2 separate regions of the Homo sapiens genome follow, and region 2 is linked to region 1. Evidence: promoter capture Hi-C in human tissues and cell types (Jung and others, 2019). All regions are on one chromosome and are shown on one strand. The core of a region is centred on a gene start or on the middle of the fragment in contact, and the rest is flanking DNA. Distances in the headings are between cores, read along the strand shown.

Region 1 (7,005 bases), core at 1,271-3,770:
CAGCAGCACCGCCAGCACCAGCGTGTTGCCCACGGTGCCCACGAGGAAGATGAGCGCGAAGAGCAGGGGCACGATGACCGCCTCGGGGTGCCAGCCTCCCCCGCCGCCCGCCTGGCTCGCGTTCCCGGCCCCTGGGCAGCCCGAGACGTTCATGGTGCCGCTGACCCCGAGGCTGCCCGGGCTCCTGCAGCCGTCTGGGTCTCCGCGAGCGGGAAGCTCCCGGGGCTGCGGCCGCTGCAACTCCTAGTGCGACTCTGCCGGGCTGAAGGCGGAGGGAGCCTTGCCTCATCTGGGGCGGGGATGGGGGTGCGCTGGGGTCAGGAGGAGGAGCAAGAGACAGGAGGGCGAGGTTGTCCCCAGCAGCGGCCGGCGGCGCTGGGGGAAGGGCTGCGGAGTGGTCCCGGCGCGCATTCCACGGCGCAGGCGGAGAGTGGCGCTTGTACCTGCTTCCGAGCTCCAGCCCCCGCAGTCGGGGGTTCTGGGCTGACCAGGCGGACTGACTTCCCCGGCAGACGCCGGAGCGGTGGAGGGGTCGACCCCGGACCCTGCGTGTGCGCCGCGCCGCAGGGAGCACGGACCTCGCACTCCGCGCGCCTCGGCGCTTCCCTGCAGCCTGGCAGGGGTGCAGGATATCCCGGGACCGTCGAGGGGCTGGGGTGCCCTCAAAAGAGGACCCCTGGGAGATCGGGGGGAGGAAACGCGGGGCGGAGGCGGATGAGGGGCCCCGGAGTCTGGCTCTTTCGCCCAGGCTAGAGTGCAGTGGCGCGATCTCGGCTCACTGCAACCTCCGTCTCCCGGGTTCAAACGGTTCTCCTGCCTCGGCCTTCTGAGGGGCTGGGACTACAGGCGTCCGCCACAACGTCTGGCTAGTTTTTTGTATTTGTATTTGTTGAGACAGAGTCTCACTCTGTCGCCCAGGCTGGAGTGTAGTGGCATGATATCGGCTCACTGCAACCTCCGCCTCCCGGGTTCAAGCGATCCTCCTGCCTCAGCCTCCCGAGTAGCTGGGATGACGGGCGCCTGCCACCACGCCTGGCTTATTTTCGTATTTTTAGTAGAAATGGGGTTTCACCATGTTGGCCAAGCTGGTCTCAAACTCCTGACCTCAAGTGATCCGCCCACCTCGGCCTCCCAAAGTGCTGGGATTACAGGCGTAAGCCACCGAGCCCGGCCACCTTTTTCCCTTCTCTTACCCATTGAACGTTTTCCCTCCAATTCAATCCAATATACTGAGCATCTATTGTGTCAGGCTCTGTCTTTGGCTCCATGCCTCAGTTTCCTCAGCTGTAACAAGGAAATGGTAACACTTCCTTCTAAGAGGGATCTGCTGAGAAAGGAATGAGATGTATGGGAGAGTTAGTTAAATCTGAATGCATCAGATCCTTATTCTTTTTCTCCTGACCTTATTCCGTATACCTTGAGGAAATTCAAAATAGAGTTCAGGGCCGGGCGCGGTGGTTCACGCCTGTAATCCCAGCACTTTGGGAGGCCGAGGCGGGCGGATCACGAGGTCAGGAGATCGAGACCATCCTGACCAACATGGTGAAACCCCGTCTCCACTAAAAATACAAAAATTAGCGGGACGTGGTGGCAGGCGCCTGTAATCCCAGCTACTCGGGAGGCTGAGGCAGGAGAATGGCTTGAACCCAGGAGGCAGAGGTTGCAGTGAGCCGAGATCACACCATTGCACTCCAGCCTGGGCAACAAGAGCGAAACTCTATCTAAAAAAAAAAAAAAAATCCGTCATTTAATCTTCCTAACAACCACTTAAATTGGTTATCCCCATTTCATAGATGAAGGAACAGATTTACAGGGAGATTAAGTTACGTGCCCAACATGTCCCTGCCGCTAATGACGGAGCGGGGATTGGAATCCCAGGTCTCAGACTCTAGAAGGTGCAAAGCAAAAATTCATATTTTCCCATGTCTCAACACTTCTCCCTCTTTGGACTGACGGCCCCAAAGTGCAGTGGTCCACGGCCCCAAGCGGTCTGAGAAAGTCACCCCGTTAGGACACCGTCTGCTGACTGCGCAGCGCTTCCTCCGGCTTGGCGTTCTTACGGCCAGCCTCAGAGGAAAGGGCAGGCAGAGGCGGGTCCCTTACGGACGGGGTGTCCCGTTCCGGTAGGGAGGACCCCATCTCTTGAGTCCCTGGGGATGCAGACACCCCGAAATCCAGTATCTTTGGTCTCCTGCTTTCTGCTGGGCAGGACGTGAACCAGATCCCCAGTCCAGGATGCAGGACCTGGGGTCCACCTCCGGTTCTCCGCCCTTAGTGGGTGGGAGGTGGGACTGCCCCCTGAGATCTCAGCAGCCACGGTCTCACTGCGGCCTCAAGTCCCCACCTAGCCAGCCACAATTCCGGACCCGGGATGACAGGATCCCTCGCGCAGGCGCGCTCCAGCACATGGCGCCCTGCTGCAGCAAGGGCCGACGGCGGCGGAGTCCGCCGCTATCCCATCAGCCCGGCCAGGCAGGTCCAGCTCTCACCCGCCCAGGTCGTCCCGCCTCCCCTATCCCGTCTTGCTCTGCGGCGCAGGGGCAAGATGGCTGCTGAGAAGCAGGTCCCAGGCGGCGGCGGCGGCGGCGGCAGTGGCGGCGGCGGTGGCAGTGGCGGCGGCGGTAGCGGCGGTGGACGTGGTGCCGGAGGGGAAGAAAATAAAGAAAACGAACGCCCTTCGGCCGGATCGAAGGCAAACAAAGAATTTGGGGATAGCCTGAGTTTGGAGAGTATCCTAGAGTAATCGGGCCTAACTCGCAATGATTACGTGTCGAACTGGAGGGCTGGGGGCGGGAGAGGCGGCGGGTCCCGACAAGTCCTGGCAGGAGAGGCCGAGGGTTGCAGTTTCTCTCGCCCTTACCTTTTGGTGCTCAGAATTCCGGGGGGGGTCTGTCTCTCGACTAGTCTTTCCTCGTGTCCCCCTCGCCGTCCTGGCTAGGTCCGTTTCTTCCAGTGGCACTGGGATATCAGGCAGGTTTCCCCTGGTGCCCCGCAGTTGTCCAGTTGGAGGGCTTGTGACCAAGTGACACCTTGAGCACCTTGCTTTGGCACCTTGAGCCACTGAACTGGGGAGAGGAAACTGCAGTCTTGACATTTGGCTTAATACTCTTGTCTGACAGTCGTCATAGACTGAGTAGTAAAACCTACAGCTCGATACTTTGAAAGTGGAGGTAAAGATTGACTCAGGAAAAGCTTGTTGCCCATTTTGATTGTAAGTTACCGTAGTTAATATCGATTGTGTCATTTTTTTCTGATCGGTCTGTAGGCATTTTATCTTGCTGACAGTCATTCATATAAGCTGGAGGAATCGGTTTCTAGTTTCCATCAGTGTGTATCTCAACCAAGTGCTTGTGGTACTAGTTTGTGACCTTTTGAAATGAATAACAAATGGAGAAAACGTAGGCGAGTTTCTGAAATAACACATTCAACTTGACATCTTAATGTGCTTAAAGTTCTCAGGCGCTTGGAGTTAAATATTTTGAATTACTGGTAATAGTTCCAAGTAGACGCTAGCGAGCCCTGATTTTACTGAGACCTTTATATCTCTTTGTCCCGTTTTAGTAATTTAAAGAGTCCTTTTAGCGTTCACTATTTTAAAATATGTCTCTAGAGAAGTGTTGAGGAAACATTAAAACTATACCTATATAGATGAAGGTCATTGGACTTTCTAAAGATTAGTACATAATCTTAAATATTTTAAGATTATTAAAAGGAGAATCTGGCCATTCTTCTTTTGAAAGAAAAACCTTAATACTTTTATGCAAACTGTAGCCTAGCTTGGTTGACATGTGCTAATCATAGACTCTCTAAGCATCACAGCTGTTAAGGAAAGTTAGATTTGGCAGGTGTTGGAGATTATGCAAATGGAGGCTTAGTACATGTCATTTATAACCTGAATCTGAATGAATAAAATGTGGGGTCTAGGTGTTAATTGGTGTGAAGCACCCCAATTATAGTCAGCATTTAGAATCCATCAGCTTAATTTAAACTGGGTTTTGGCAGTTTCCAGTGGCCAGTAGTGCCCTCCTTTTTCAGTTTGCAAGTAGTAACAGTTCAGGCAATCAGTTTTCCTGTAGGTTAGCCCTGTCCTGTGACAAGATAGATATTGAAAATGGTTACAAAAGATCTCACCAGTGTACTAAATATTTCACAAATTTGTGTGTGTGTGTGTGTGTGTGTGTGTGTGCATGTGCATGTGTGACTGAATCTCACTCTCACCTAGGCTGGAGTGCAGTGGCGCTGTCTTGGCTCATTGCAACCTCTGCCTTCCAAGTTCAAGCGATTCTCCTGCCTCAGCCTCCCGAGTAGCTGGGATTACAGGTGCTAGCCATTGCGCCCGGCTAATTTTTTGTGTTTTTAGTAGAGACGGGGTTTCACCATGCTGGCCAGGCTGGTCTTGAACTCCTGACCTCAGGTGATACACCCGCCTCGGCCTCCCACAGTGCTGGGATTACAGGCATGAGCCACCGTACCTGGCTATATTTCACAAATGTTTAATGTGTTGTGGTTTGACACAGATATAGACTGATGGTACAGGTTTTGATTTGTTTGGATTCTTGCTATGGTAAGATTTTCCTTAATCTCGACTCTAGTTCTTCAGATTATTAAGGAATCCCAGCAGCAGCATGGTTTACGGCATGGAGATTTTCAGAGGTACAGGTTAGTATCACATACAAGATGTTTGGAAATCATTGTGGGACTTGCTTTGCTTTTGTTAATATCCTGTTTACTCTGCTATATCAGCAAATATGCTAGAAAGTCTAGAGCATTGTTTTTTTTGTTTGTTTGTTTGCTTTGTTTTTTTTTTTTTTTTTGAGATGGAGTCTCGCTCTGTCGCCAGGCTGGAGTGCAGTGGCGCAATGTTGGCTCACTGCAACCTCCACCTCCTGGGTTCCAGCGATTCTCCTGCCTCAGCCTCCTGAGTAGCTGTTTTTTTTGTTTGTTTGTTTGTTTGTTTTTTGAGATGGAGTCTCACTCTGTCACCCAGGCTGGAGTGTAGTGGCGCAATCCTGGCTCACTGCAGCCCATGCCTCCCGGGTTCAGGTGATTCTCCTGCTTCTGCCTCCAGAGTACCTGGGATTATAGGCATGTGCCACCATGCCTGGCTAATTTTTGTATTTTTAGTAGAGATGGGGTTTCGCCATGTTGGCCAGGCTGGTCTCAAACTCCTGACCTCAGGTGATCCACCCACCTCAGCTTCCCAAAGTGTTGGAATTACAGGCGTGAGCCACCGTGTCTGGCCTATTTCTTTTTTTTTTTTTCTTTTAAATAATCTATACCCTGGTAGCTTTGATTGAGATGCTGAAGTAGTATTTATTTTATTTATTTTTGATACGGAGTCTCACTCTGTTGCCCAGGCTGGAGTATAGTGGCGCGATCTCGGCTCACTGCAACCTCCGCCTCCCGGGTTCAAGTGATTCTTCTGCCTCAGCCTCCTGAGTGGCTGGGACTGAAGGCACATGCCACCATGCCCGGCTAATTTTTAGTAGAGACAAGATTTCACCATGTTGGCCAGGCTGGTCTTGAACTCCTGACCTCAGGTGATCCACCTGCCTCAGCCTCCCAAAGTACTGGGATTACGGGTGTGAGCCAATGTGCCTGGCCTATTTATTTATTTTTATTTCATTTTATTTATTTACTTATTTTTTTGAGACAGAGTCTTTGTCTGTCACCCAGTCTGGAATGCAGTGGCACGATCTCGGTGTACTGCAACCTCCGCCTTCCGGGTTCAAGCAGTTCTCCTGCCTCAGCCTCCCGAGTACCTGGGACTACAGGCATGCACCACCATGCCTGGCTAATTTTTGTATTTTTAGTAGAGATGGGGTTTCACCATGTTGCCCAGGCTGGTCTCGAACTCCTGACCTCAAGTGATCTGCCTGCCTCAGCCTCCCAAAGTGCTAGGATTACAGGCGTGAACCACCACGCCCGGCCCCTGAAGTAGTATTGAAATATCATTTTGTATTGTAAATTATGTGCTGTATTACTTTGACTTAAAGGTTGGTGCAATTTTATATATATATATATTTATTTATTTATATATATATTTTAAACTAATTTAGTCAAAATGTATGTATTGAACATCTGCATATTAGACACTGTGGTAAGGCATTGTGGAAAATTTAAAAATGAAATCCTAGCTGGAATGGTGGCACATGCCATAGTGCCAGTTACTTGGGAGGATGAGGCCCGAGAATTGCTTAAGCCCCGGAGTTCGAGCCCAGCCTGGGCAACAGCAACATAGTGAGACTCTGTCTCAAAAAAATAATTCTCCCTGCACTAAAGGGATTTATATTAGTGGACAACTATGTGAGAACATAATTATAATGTCACACACTGTAATAGAAGGAAGAATAAAGAGCTACATGAGCATAGAGGAGGAGGCTTGGCATAGAGGTGACATTTGTAGTGCTTCTTGGCGATAACCTAATTGGCTTCCTCACTTTTCTTCAGACCTGCCTGCAGTTCTTTCTCCATATGTTTGGTGTCATCTTAGTCTTCCTCAGGATGCCCCTTTCCCTGCTTTCTTTACATTTATTAGAATCCTCCTCATTCTTCTTCTTCTTCTTTTTTTTTTTTTTTTTCAGACACAGTCTTGCTCTGTTGCCTAGGCTGGAGTGCAATGGCGTGTTCTCGGCTCACTGCAACCTCCACCTCCCGGGTTTAAGCAGTTCTCTGCCTCAGCCTCCCGAGTAGCTAGAATTATAGGCGCCCGCCCGCCATGCCTGGCTAATTTTTTTTTTTTTCGAGACGGAGTTTTACTGTTGTTGCCCAGGCTGAAGTGCAATGGCGCAATCTTGGCTCAACGCAACCCCCACCTCCTGAGTTTAAGCGAATGTCCTGCCTCATCCTCCCGAGTAGGCTGGGATTACAGGCATGTGCCACCACAACTGGCTAATTTTGTATTTTTAGTAGAGACGGGGTTTCTGCATGTTGGGCAGGCTGGTCTCGAACTCTTGACATCAAGTGATCCGCCCACCTCGGCCTCCCAAAGTGCTGGGATTACAG
Region 2 (7,005 bases), core at 2,459-4,958, 1.3 Mb before region 1:
GACCCAGCCTCAAAGCAGCCAGTGACTAAAGCACACAGCTGGTACCTCCTCACCCCCAGGGTACCAGGAGGCTTGGCTAGAACTCATGCCAGCCAGGAGAAACAGGCTGTCCCTGGGGCCCTTGGTGTCCTGGCCTCCCTACTGTTTTTCTGAAGAAGGCACCCTGCTCTGTGGGGTCTGAGGCTGGAGGCAACTTGCCACCGATGCAGTGCAGGGATGAGGGCTGAGTCACCAGCCTGCCCTAGTTCCACGTCAGCAGGAACAACAGGGACTCAAGCAGAGAAGAAAGCATTTATTTTCAAAGTCACCACAGTGACTGAGGCGACGTGGTCCCCAGGGAGCTCTCCTCCCTGCTGGCCCTCTGTGGACCGCGGCTCCATGTTCTAACAATGCCTCTGCCCATCCCGTAAGGCCCAGCAGGTGGAAGGAAAGAGGGTGGAGGTTGGGAGTGGCGGCCTGGCAACCCGGGAAGGGCAGGGAGCAGGAACATGCCCTCCCTCTTCTGCACCCGCTCAGAAGGCTCCACAGGGCCTGTCCTGCCATCCACAATCCCAGGGAGATCCTTCCTCAATGCCTGCCCTATAAATGCCCATCCACCCTACACTTGAACACCTCCAGTTACAGGGAGCTCAGTACCTACCTATGCCATTCATTCTATCTTTGGCTGTTCAAAAAAGAGGAAAGAGAGAGAAAGAAAAGATAGGAAAGACAGAGAAAGGGGGAAAGAGAGAGAGAGGAAAGAAAGAAAGAGGAAAGAATAAGACAGGAAGGAAAGAAAAAGGAAGGGAACGGAAGGGAAGGAAGAGAGGGAAGAAAGAGAGAAAGAGAGAGAAAGAGGTACAAACAAGGCAGGCTTCATGGAGCAGAGACTCAATAAGGGAGCAAAATACATCTGCAGTCAGGCTGTAGATGGATTTCTACAGGAGCGCATATCCACTCTACTCTTTCCGGAACAGAAAAGTGGAAAGAAGATGTAGCGGTGTGGGTGGGTGGCGGCTCTTTCTGGGGGCCTGGAATGTGGGGCATCAGCCCTCTTGGTTTTGAGAAGGAGACTAAGATCACCAACATCCACAGTGGAGACCGAACCACATAAGGGCTGGGGACATCGTCTCTTCTGCATCTCTAACAAAGACCCGATGCTCTAACTATGGGAACCTGTGGAAGAAGAAACAAAACTGGCTCTGGGGCCCTTTAGAGAACTGGTTTTCCATCCAGTGGTGGTTGTGAAGAAATTTCTGGAGCCAGCCTCAGCGGCCTGGGCCTGCACAGCTGAGACTGTCCCTGGAAGCTGAGTGGAAGTGGGGAGCCTCCAGGCACAGCTGGGCTCTGCTCCCCACCTCAGCCAGCAGCCCCAGGACTTCTGGGTGCTCCAGAGCTTTCTCCAGAGGGCAAATCCAGAGTATGAGGGAGCGGGGAGATGCCCAACATTGGGGGACCCCTGCCCGTCTCTGCCCCCAGCCTCGCTGACCTGAACAGGGAGGCCATGGGTGTTCAGGGGTAGAACTGTGGGCTGGCAAGCCCCCAGCCCTGGTCTCTTCCTGCCCCCCTCTCCTCACTGCCACTGACCATCTCTGGCTACATGTTGACACCTCCACAGGATGATGGAGAAGAGAGAAGAGGAACCTCTCCGCTCTGCCCAGCACACTCCAAAGAGGCTCCAGTGCAAAGGCACCGACGTTCACAGCCAAATGTGTGTGGGGGTTCCCCAGGAGTGGGACGCTTCCACTCCGTTCCAGACTGCCATGAATCGACAGAAGGTTTTATGTCACCAAATATACCCCATTAACAAATTACCCTAACACTCAGTAAAAAAATAAATAAAAATGCATGCACCCCGTGCCCTGCAGTGCCCCCATGCCGCACCCCTCTTTGCACCTGAGCCTCGGCTCGCGCTCTTGGCCTGCCGCCTTGGGAACAGAACGCTCTGCGTGGGAGGCAGACAGGAAGCGCGGGGTGCGCTGGCTGGGCCCCTCCAGACAATCTGGTATTGCTTTCCCCAGATAATGAAATCTTCCCCACCCTGAGTGTCTCTGGAAGCCAGCCGGCAGCCAGATCAACCTAAATGAACCATTTGTCCCTCCTGTGAAGTGACCTCAGGGACCTAATGGGTTTGTTATTAACACAGTCCCCCTCGCACTCTGTTCCCCCTCCTCACTTTTCTCCCCCTGCATGAGTCACTGGCCACGATGACTCGGCCCAGCCAAGGGACCTGGCCAGCTCTGGCCAGGCTATGTGAGAGACAGCACAAAGGACCAAGGCTGCCGGAACCAGGCCAGAGGCTGAGGGCCACACGGACCCCCTGGAGTGTCTGTAACTGGGGACTCCTAAGGCTGCTCCTTGGTTCTGGGGACCTGTCCACTTGGGGACAGTCTTAAGGGAGACTCTTAAAAGCAGGGAGCCAAAAGGGTGAACTAATACAGAAACACTGAGGGCCAGGGAGAACTTGAAGATGGGCTCGGCTGGGCACAGTGGCTCATGCCTGTAATCCCAGCACTTTGGGAGGCCAAGGTGGGCGGATCACCTGAGGTCAGGAATTCGAGACCAGCCTGGCCAACATGGTGAAACACCATCTCTACTAAAAATACAAAAATTAGCCGGGTGTGGTGGCAGGTGCCTGTAATCCCAGCTACTCAGGAGGCTGAGGCAGGAGGATTGCTTGAACGCAGGAGGCAGAGGTGGTAGTGAGCCAAGATTACACCACTGCACTCCAGCCTGGGCAACAGAGTGAGACTCCATCTCAAAAAAAAAAAAAAAAAAAAAAAAAAGACAGGCCCAAGGCCTGGAGAGCCAGAAGTCACCTTCCCACCTCTGGGTGGCCCACTTTGAGATTGTATCACGTCAGAGAAAGTTGCGGGAGTGTCTGTTTATAATTCATAAGCAACACTGTTTCCTTCTCCCACTAGCTCCTGGCTCTAGCAGGCCCCTGACTCGTGCCTTCCCCAGGGTCTTGGGTCCCCCCAAGCTGGACTCCCGGCTGTTGGTGGGATGACCATGTGACCTGTCACTTCCCTGCCCACCGTCCTGGGCAGCCTCTGTCACCTGGTGCATACAGAGTGGAGCTCAGCAAGGCCGGGGCCGCCGATCTCCTGCCAGCCACATCTGCCTCCTCTCACGCCACTTCTCCCCGCCTTGGTCATGCCCAGGGGCTCACACTTCCCCACAAGCCAGGTGCCAGACCTCTGTGCCTGCCCTATCCTGTTCCCTCTGCCTGGTGGGCCCCTCACACCCTCCCTGGCCTGACTCAGGCCTGATCTGTCTTCAGGTCTCAGCTCAGAGGCTGCTTCTTCTAGGAAGCCTTCCTGGGATCGTCAGATGAAGGGATTCTCCTCTGGACCCTTCTTCTATTTTCACAGCCTCAGGAACAGCCTCTAACTCAGGCCTTACTGAGTTAGTGTGGCATCCAGGAGAGCCACAAGCGTGTGACGAACGTGTTGAAGCCTTTTTAAAAGCTGAAGGAGCCCTGTGAACATACAGCAGCATCAGCTCAGACTGCGAAGGCACAGGGGAGTCAGCCTCCTTCAGCCTCGTCTGCCCCTGGCCTTCCTCTTGAGGAGGTGGGAGCCAGTCAGCTGGGATTAGGAGGTGGGCTTCATGGAGTAGAGACTCAATAAGGGAACAAAATAAATTAGAGAATTCTTTTGCTGCAAGGAACCTAGACAAGGAGCACCCAGTCAGAGGAGGAAGGAAGAGACCGGCAGCAGACCTCCCTTGCCCCAGCAGTCCTGCAAGCCAGATGGGCCAACTTCTCAGCACAGCTGTTCTCCAGCACAGAGAAATTTCTCACCTTCAGCAACAGGGTGGGAACATTCCCAGACAGGGCCACGGCTACTCTGGTCACAGGGACCACGGAGTCTGAGTCTCTGTGGCTTGTCCCATCCATGTGGCCACAGATCTTGAGCACACATCTGGAGCTACAGAGCCCAAAGGGCAGGGCAGGGCAGGGAATCTGCCTGATTGGTGAAGGCCACCCCACCATCTGGAGTACAGGCCTCTGCCCCCAAATCCACATGGAGCCTCCGATACGGGGCATCGATTTCAAGGAGGTGAATGTGGACATTCAAGGCCAGTGAATGGCCAGGTGTCAACACATCGACAGGCCCTTGGCCCCTCCCCCAACACTGAGGGTAGGAAACAAATGGGGTCTACATGGTGCATATGGTCTCCAGAGCCAGCAAGGTGTGCAAGACCCGGCAGCTGAGAAAACTGACCACTTGGCCGGGCGCGGTGGCTCACGCCTGTAATCCCAGCACTTTGGGAGGCCGAGGCGGGCGGATCACGAGGTCAAGAGATCGAGACCATCCTGGCTAACACGGTGAAACCCTGTCTCTACTAAAAATACAAAAAATTAGCCGGACGCGGTGGCAGGCGCCTGTAGTCCCAGCTACTCCGGAGGCTGAGGCGGGAGAATGGCGTGAACCTGGGAGGCGGAGCTTGCAGTGAGCCGAGATAGCGCCACTGCACTCCAGCCTGGGCGAAAGAGCGAGACTCCATCTCAAAAAAAAAAAGAAAAGAAAAGAAAAGAAAACTGACCACTCGATTATGAATAAGCTAGAACATTTATCCAGAAAAAAAAAACAGCTTTGTCCAATTGGGGACCTAAAATCTCAGGACCTATGTCCCCTTCCTATAGAGCCACATCACTTTCCTAATGCCCACCCTCGATCCCACCTGCCTGCCAAGCTTCAGGTATCCAGAACACAGCATGACAGCAAGCTCTGTGATTCCCACAGGTTTTCCCAACCTACCCCAGGCATAGCTACATCTTTAGTTCTGAGCAGCAGGGAGTGACATGCAGATGGTCACCCAGACAGAGAAAGACCTTCAAAAGGAGGGCAGGCTCTGTCCCGCAGGCAGTACCTATTGACACAGACATCAGTAGGCAAATCTTTCAGGAAGATTTTCATTAAGAAAGAACGAAAGAGGCCCAGTGCGGTGGCTCACGCCTGTAATCCCAGCACTTTGGGAGGCCAAGGCGGGTGGATCACCTTAGGTAAGGAGTTCGATACCAGCCTGGCCAATGTGGTGAAACCCCATCTCTACTAAAAATACAAAATTTAGCTGGACGTGGTGGTGGGCACCTGTAATCCCAGCTACTTGGGAGGCTGAGGCAGGAGAATCACTTGATCCCAGGAGGCAGAGGTTGCAGTGAGCCAGGATCACACCACTGCACTCCAGCCTGGGGGGCAACAGAGAGAGACCCCGTCTCAAAAAAAAAAAAAAAAAAAAAAAGGATGAAAGACAAACAAGGCTGAAACTGGCAGGCTGGTACATTTCTAACAACCTACCCTAGGCCGGGCGCAGTGGCATAATGCCAGCATTTTGGGAGGCCGAGGAGGGCAGATTGCGAGGTCAGGAGATCGAGACCATCCTGGCTAACACGGTGAAACCCCGTCTCTACTAAAAATACAAAAAATTAGCCGGGTGTGGTGGCGGGCGCCTGTAGTCCCAGCTATTCTGGAAGCTCAGGCAGGAGAATGGTGTGAACCAGGGAGGCGGAGCTTGCAGTGAGCGGAGATCGCATCACTCCACGCCAGCCTGGGCGACAGAGCGAGACTCCGTCTCAAAAAAAAAAAGAAACAAAAAACAAAAACAACAAAAAAAAAACAACCTACCCTAGTAGGGAGCAGGAGGTAAGGCCTGATATGTAGTGTTTGCCAATTCCTGTGGTGTAAACACACCCACTGTGGCAAATTTCAAGCTACAAACAGGACATCACTAAACACAGAGTTGGGAAAAGACATGCACACCACTGGATAAAACGCTCAGGCAGCTACGGCTTATTCTTCCCTGGGAAGGGGGGTATGTCTAGAATGCCCCTTACTATGGAGAATGACTGTGGCAAATAGGGTTCAACTGGCAGGCTGACCCAATCAACTGCCCACTGATGTGATGTGGGGCAGGTTTCTGAGGCTGCCTCCATGCTCAGGGAAGAAGGTGGCCATGTGGCTACAGACCTGGCCCTGGGTTTGCTTTTTTTTTTTTTTTTTGAGACAGAGTTTTGCTTTTTTTCTCCAGGCTGGAGTGCAATGGTGTGATCTTGGCTCACTGCAACCTCCGCCTCCTGGGTTCAAGCAATTCTCCTGCCTCAGCCTTCCAAGTAGCTGGGATCACAGGTGCCCACCACCATGCCCAGCTAATTTTGTATTTGTAGTACAGATGGGGCTGTTGGCCAGGCTAGTCTCAAACTCCTGACCTCAGGTGATCCACCCACCTTGGCCTCCCAAAGTGCCAGGATTACAGGCATGAGCCACTGCGCCCACCCGGGTTTGCTATCTTGAGGATACATCTGGAGTTATGTGCTCATGATTTTTTTTCCATTTTAAAACTTTGATTTTATTTTATTGTTTTTAGAGACAGGTCCTGCTCTGTCACCCAGGCTGGAGTGCAGTGGTGCAATCATAGCTCACTGCAGCCTCGAACTCCTAGGCCCAAGCGATCCTCCCATCTCAGCCTCTCGAGTAGCTGGGGCTGGGTCTACAGGTGCCACCACACTCAGCTACATTTTATATTTTTTTGCAGAGACAGGGTCTTGCAATTTGCCCAAACTGGTCTCAAACTCCTGGCCCCAAGCAATCTTCCCACCCTCAGCCTCACAAAGTGCTGGGATTATAGATGTTAGCCAGTGCACCCAGCAGCCATCATGATTGACTGGTGACGTCTGTTCCAGCTCCAGGATGAAAGAGCAGTAGCACTTCAGCCAAGCATTTGTGGCTCCTGATTGGAAGACGTTTTTCTTGCCCCTTAAGCACAGTGCAAATGCCACCTCCTTGGTAAGCTCTTTTCCAATCTTACTTTCTCCCTGGCATAGGGCCTGCCACAGCTCTGTTCATACAAAGAGAGCTATCAGTGCATGTGGTACAGATGCTAGTTGTTTCCCCAATATCTGAGCTCCCTTTTTTCTATAGTAACTGAAGTTTTGGTTGTGCACAGGGAAGCCCAGCTGAAGAATACATTGCTCAGCCTCCCTGATGACAGGAGCGGCCATACAACTGGGTTCTGGCCAGT

Evidence for each region. The method cuts DNA at HindIII sites, captures the fragments that hold promoters and counts their contacts. A contact is called where the count stands out against the background at its distance.
Region 2: a fragment that was not itself captured here is called in contact with the fragment with the promoter of SRP68 in region 1 in 1 of the 25 tissues and cell types used here (spleen).

The regions. Positions count from the first base shown.
Region 1 is chr17:76,068,032-76,075,036 of GRCh38, reverse strand. SRP68 (signal recognition particle 68) reads left to right here and starts at 2,520. Exons shown (of 16, transcript NM_014230.4): 1 at 2,520-2,729; 2 at 4,593-4,659. The coding sequence starts at 2,546. It overlaps GALR2 (galanin receptor 2), which reads right to left and starts at 256. Exons shown (of 2, transcript NM_003857.4): 1 at 1-256. The coding sequence starts at 153. RefSeq lists enhancers at 1-191, 1,578-2,405, 2,358-2,407, 2,406-3,233. The HindIII fragment of the contact is 13,843 bases long and covers 1-5,781 here.
Region 2 is chr17:77,359,140-77,366,144 of GRCh38, reverse strand. All of the region lies in intron 2 of SEPTIN9 (septin 9), which reads right to left. Among named protein-coding and RNA genes, the nearest start is that of MIR4316, 34 kb to the left of the region's middle. RefSeq lists enhancers at 1,172-1,828, 2,004-2,298, 1,829-2,487. The HindIII fragment of the contact is 6,488 bases long and covers 465-6,952 here.